Linked DNA regions of Homo sapiens: region 2 is linked to region 1. The links are contacts of gene promoters, found by promoter capture Hi-C in blood cells and fetal thymus (Javierre and others, 2016). All regions are on one chromosome and are shown on one strand. The core of a region is centred on a gene start or on the middle of the fragment in contact, and the rest is flanking DNA. Distances in the headings are between cores, read along the strand shown.

Region 1 (2,751 bases), core at 125-2,624:
GCTTGAGGATCTTCAGCTCCCTGAGGGTCCGCTTGGCATTGGTCACCACATCGAAAGCATTAGGGATCTTCTTGATGGCCACCTGCTGGCCTGAGGAGCAGGGAAAAGGGACATACCAGAGGATACCTTGGAGAAACTGCAGAGTCGACTCAGCCCCTATCAACACCTCCCTTCTAGGATGCAAATGACAACAGCTACCAAGTATTGGGTACCTACTATGTGCCAAGCCCTGTGCTAAGCATGTTACCTACATTATTAAATGTTACCTTCACAACTCCCCTGCGGGGCAGGTCCCAATAGGTCAACGTTAAAGAGAAGGAAATATGGCTTAGTAACTTGTTGGAGGTTGCACGGATGCCCAGTGGTGTAGCTCAGCCTCTTATGCCTACACCCTCTCCATCTCAGACCTCACCCATCCCACCACCAGTTCCTTATGCCAGTGTCTGGCTCCAGAACACATTTCTCTCTTAGACACGAAGGACTGGCTCTCCATTCTGGTCTAACTGGGACTATCATTTTCCTAAGGAGGAAGTAGGCAGGCAGGATGGCAAAACCACCAGGCCGGAGTTTCAGAGAACCGAGCCTCCCCGGAGCCTGGCAGGCAGAAGGCCCTGGTCAGTGTGTGTTGACTGGAGCCAGAACTCGCACCCCGCTTTCCTTCCCGGCTGTCTGGGACAGGCCGGTTTCCCACTCCCTGCGACGCTGCCACATCTGGGAGGCGACGGCTCAGGAAGCTCACCGGTGAGGCGGCGGCGGGCGGAGGACACCACTCCATAGGCCCCGTTGCCTATGGTCTCGATGATCTCGTACTCGTCGCCCACGTCAAAGGTCACATCGAAGGAGCGGGCTTTAAGCAGGGCCAGGTTCTTGGCCGCTACAGAGGCAGCGGTGTGGGCGGGTTCGGCCTTCACGGGCCCGGGGGGCTCCGCAGAGCCGTCCTCGCCGTCTTCCTCCTTCAGAGGCTCGGCCATGGTGTCTGTGTGGAGACTCGGGTGAGGAGAGGACCACCTACCGTGGGCCTCAGTGTCCCCTCTGCGGGCTGGGGAGCAGGACCAGGGAACTTCCCAGTTTCCTAAACCGACAAGGGCAGAAGCGCGCGGCTGGTTCGTGGCAGACTAGCTACCCCAGGGGTCCGGGCCCAGAGCCGGGGGCCCGCCAGGGTCGGGGGAGGGGTAGGCGAGGCGCGGGCCAGGAAGAAAGGGAGGGGCGGGGCACCTGGGTTTCCTCAGGGCCGCACTCACCCCCGCGCCTCCTCAAGGCTTTCAGAGGTCCCGAGGCTCGCCGGCCTCCCGTCCCCAGCGCGGGGGTCTCCGAGGGTGGCTCACTTACTTGTTCAAAGGCCGCAGCCACCACCTCAGCGTCTTGAGCTGCCCTGTCCGTCCCCCTCCGCCCCGCCTCCCAAGGCCACGCTCCCTCCAGCTCCTGGCCAATCGCTGAGCTACTGCTGCGGAGGGTCCTGCCCCTTCTACCTACTGCGTCCAATCCTAGCCCACCGGCCGAGAAAGCCACGCCTGGCGCGCGCCGCTGTCCAGCTCGCCGGCGGGAGCCGCCCAAAGGGTGCCCGGCACTTCGCAGGGGTGTGCTCCCCGCCCTGCACCGCCTTCAAACGCATGCGCACTGGCAGTCGGGCGCCAAGTGAATGGAAGGCAACGCCCCTGCACGTAGCGCGCGCGTCCCCATGAAGCTCTCAACCTCATCCGGCCAATCACAGCTAGTCCCGTGAGCTCGGGGAACTGCCCGGCCTGAGATGCCCAGGTCTGGGACTGTTACCTTGGCTACTGGCTCCCGAAGTCCCCTTCCGCCCAGGGAATTGTGTCCGCCATTTGCTTGGTCCCAGGAGCTCTGGGAATGTGTCATCCCCGGTAGAGGGTGCCCGTCACGGCCAACCACAGAGATCCCGGTCCTCCGGGATTCTAGAGCGTCCGGCCGAACCCTCCACTGACTTCCGGTGGCTGAGCCTCTCCGCAGCTTCCGGCCAAGTTGGACTGCAGCTCGCGGTTTCCTGGCTTCTAGGTATCTTCCCTCCGCTCGTTTGTCTGTCCCGCGATTCCCGTGCTTTGGGCTGCAGCGGAGTTAACCGAGGCGGCCGCCCAACCTCTGCTCCTCTGCGGAGCCCGCGGGTGGGCGGAGCCCTCGCTGGAACCGAGCTGTCCCGACCCACCCCAAAATCCGATAGTTTATTCGTTCATTCATGTAGCAAATGTTTATGGAGCACCGCCCCTCTAAGGCTCAGTGCCGGGAGGCGAAGGTGGACATGGTGGATACTGTGAGCTGGAAGGAAAGGTTTTCTAAAGGGAGCTCGAGGTAGGGCCGAAAAGAAGTGAAGAATTTTGGTTTCACTCCTAGGCGGCTTCTAGAAAAAAGCAATATGTATGCATATTCGTACCTACCTCCCCTTTGGTGTACAAAAATGTAGCATATTATGCTCTTTTCCTGAAGATCATTCCATATCAATAACTGGAGGGGTCCCTCACTTTTAAACAACTTTTAATAACATACCATAAAACTCATCCTTTTATAGTGTACAATTCAGTGTTTTTTGGTATATTCACAGTTGAGCAGCCATCATCACTACCTAATTTTAGGTAGAGTGGTTTATGGAACATTTTCATCGCCCCTAAAAGAAACCTATGTGAACCAAGTATCTGAGACAAGTCTCAAGTCAATTTAGAAAGTTTATTTTGCCAATGTTAAGGACATGGTGGTGACAGCCTCAGGAGGTCCTACAACATGTGCCCAAGATGGTCGGGG
Region 2 (2,751 bases), core at 170-2,669, 6.4 Mb after region 1:
AAAAGTCCAAGATGAGATGTAGCTCAGGAGTCAGGCCGCTTCGGGAGTTTGTTGTCCTTAACAGAAGGTCAGCGTTGGCAAAGCTCGGCAGCTCCTCTTTCTGTCCTGAGGTCTTGTCTAGTGACTGAGAACAGGCTGACCCCTATGTGCTGTCCTTGTTTGGATGGCACCGGGTAAAGACTGACACCAGCATTTTCTCTGCAGGCCTTTGAACTTTTGTGTTATTTCATATATTATATGTGTTATAAAGCACATTACAATATATTTTTCTCTGTCTTCTCCAGTCCTAGGTGAAATGTGTCATTTAAAAAAAATTTCACTTGCCATTCTAAAGTTTTTCTGGTGAGAGTTTTGTGTTTTTCATTTACGCAAACACATCTCCACATAAGTAGGGAAAAAAAGTCTTCTTGAGTATATTAGTGTCTTCAGCCTTTGTATTGGGACAGTAGCGTCCATTAATTTTTATGTGAAGTGAAATTAGGTATCGGGTCATAATCAGTCTGTGATGTCTTCACAGCTTTCACATTTACCTTGTGATAATCAAGTGTGTTTTTCCTCAGGTGTTAGCCAGAGAAGAGGGGTCAGGGACTCTTCCCTGGTCGTAGCTTTCATCTGTAAGGTAAGGAAGACTTTCCGGAGGGCTGTACATGACTGGGGTCTTGGTCAGCGACCTCTGGTTTGCACTTTTTCATTAATTTGAGGGTAGGCACTCCTGTTACCTGAGACAAGAAGAGATAGCAGATCTTCAGAAAAGCTGATGGAAGGCCGGGTGCAGTGGCTCACGCCTGTAATCCCAGCACTTTGGGAGTCCAAGGCAGGTGGATCACGAGGTCAGGAGTTTGAGAACAGCCTGACCAACGTGGTGAAACCCTGTCTGTACTAAAAATACAAAAATTAGCTGGGTGTGGTGGCGCATGCCTGTAATCCCAGCTACTTGAGAGGCCAAGGCAAGAGAATCGCTTGAACACAGGAGGCGGAGGTTGCAGTGAGTTGAGATTGCACCATTGCACTCCAGCCTGGGTGACAGAGCAAGACTCTCTCAAAGAAAAAAAAAATTCGATAGAAATGACACTGGCAATGAGCCTGCAACAAGTATTACTACTGACCTTTCATAATTGTCATCACTTGTAGGTTTCAGAGTTTAGATGCTCTGTTTCTCAAAATAACCCCATACTTTTATTTCCTTTTAAATTTTTTTCCAGTGCCCTGTCAGCCTCCGTACATTTTTTTTTTTTTTTTTTGAGACCATGTCTGTCTCCATCGCCTAGGCTGGAGTGTGCAGTGGCACAATCTCGGCTCACTGCAGCCTCCACCTCCCAGGTTCAAGTGATTCTCCTGCCTCAGCCTCCCAAGTAGCTAGGATTATAGGTGCGCGCCACCACACCCAGTTAATTTTTGTATTTTTAGTAGAGATGGGGTTTCACCATGTTGGCCAGGCTGGTTTCACTCCTGACCTCAGGTGATCCACCCACCTTGGCCTCCCAAAATGCTGGGATTACAGGCGTGAAGCACTGTGCCTGGTCCATATTCTTTTATATTTGCCAATGATTGGTCCTTTTAGAATTCAGAAATTATTGAAGGCAGCTGTGTTTGTTTTCCTTCAACTCCATCAGGCCTTTATTCAAAGTCTTTTAACTCTGTTTTACTTTATTTCATTCCCCTGCAATAGCTAAGGTCTAACACCAGATTAATTGGAATATTAGCTAGCATTCACAAAGGCCTAGATCTGTAACTCTGAAATTGGTCAAATTCCATTAAAAATTTTTGTTACAATAAGCTGTTTGTAAGATCTGACTAGTGGCTTATTTTTAATAGAATTTTGCATTAAAATTTTATCAATACAATTTGCAACAAATTTGTCTAAATATGTGAAAAGATTTCATTGCCTTTTTGTGGGCTTAGATTATTTTTTAATGTTGATTTTGAAATATATTTGGAATTGTTATCTAAATTCTAAAAGCTACAAGTGAAAATAATAATGAAAGTAAGTAGTTAATATTAGTGGCAAGATCATTGCCAGTATCATTTCTATCGATTTATTTGAATAATGTGATTTTCATAAAAGTTAAGTACTACTGTTAACAGGCTTATTACTTGTATGTTTCTGAGTTTTAGATAGCAAAATCATTTTTTAAAGTTTTAAAAATATTTTATTTTTGATAATCTATATTTATATTGTCTGATTTTTAAACTGTTTTCTATGGTAATCTTTAAATCGTATTCCTGCTTTCCGGAATAGGTAACAGTGAGCATGATGAAAAGTGACAAGCTCACTTTTACACACTCGGGCAGTTGCCCTATTATCAGGCAGCCGTTCCTGGGGGCTGCCAGCTGCCTGCCCTGGCTTTTCCATCTCCTTCCTTGCTGTCTTCTGCGGCTCCTTCTGAGGGCTGCTGTCACTGGATTAGCCTATAACGCCTTTCCCCTCTTCTAATTAATTTGCTGCTCTCAGGTGAGGTTTTGGAAAGCAATAAAGCTGAGCTAGGTCAAGTTCCAGGAGTCTCTTGGCATGAGGACCTGAAAAACTCATCTGTTGGAAGACCTCGGCTTTGGGCAGCTGGTGCACTGTTGGGGCGTTATTGGCTGCGTTCTGGCTCTCATCAGTCTTCCAGATACTCTGCATTCCTCAGAGAGGAACATATCTCCATGGGTTGAGTTCAGCTCCCAGGGAGATGGGTTTCCCTGCCTTAAGTCGGCAAGTACCTTTTTTTTTCTTTTTTTGAGACAGAGTCTCGCTCTGTCACCAGGCTG

Evidence for each region. The method cuts DNA at HindIII sites, captures the fragments that hold promoters and counts their contacts. A CHiCAGO score of 5 or more calls a contact.
Region 2: a contact is called between a fragment that was not itself captured here and the fragment with the promoter of MAPK7 in region 1, in 1 of 17 cell types (neutrophils). The highest score is 10.6, in neutrophils.

The regions. Positions count from the first base shown.
Region 1 is chr17:19,377,121-19,379,871 of GRCh38, reverse strand. MAPK7 (mitogen-activated protein kinase 7) reads right to left here and starts at 1,374. Exons shown (of 7, transcript NM_002749.4): 1 at 1,242-1,374; 2 at 740-976; 3 at 1-90. The coding sequence starts at 971. It also overlaps a transcript of B9D1 not described here. RefSeq lists silencers at 1,149-1,408, 1,479-1,538, 2,249-2,298 and an enhancer at 1,749-1,978. The HindIII fragment of the contact is 26,192 bases long and covers 1-2,751 here.
Region 2 is chr17:13,008,481-13,011,231 of GRCh38, reverse strand. It overlaps ELAC2 (elaC ribonuclease Z 2), which reads left to right. Exons shown (of 24, transcript NM_018127.7): 8 at 561-619. Among named protein-coding and RNA genes, the nearest start is that of ELAC2, 8.2 kb to the left of the region's middle. The HindIII fragment of the contact is 9,574 bases long and covers 1-2,751 here.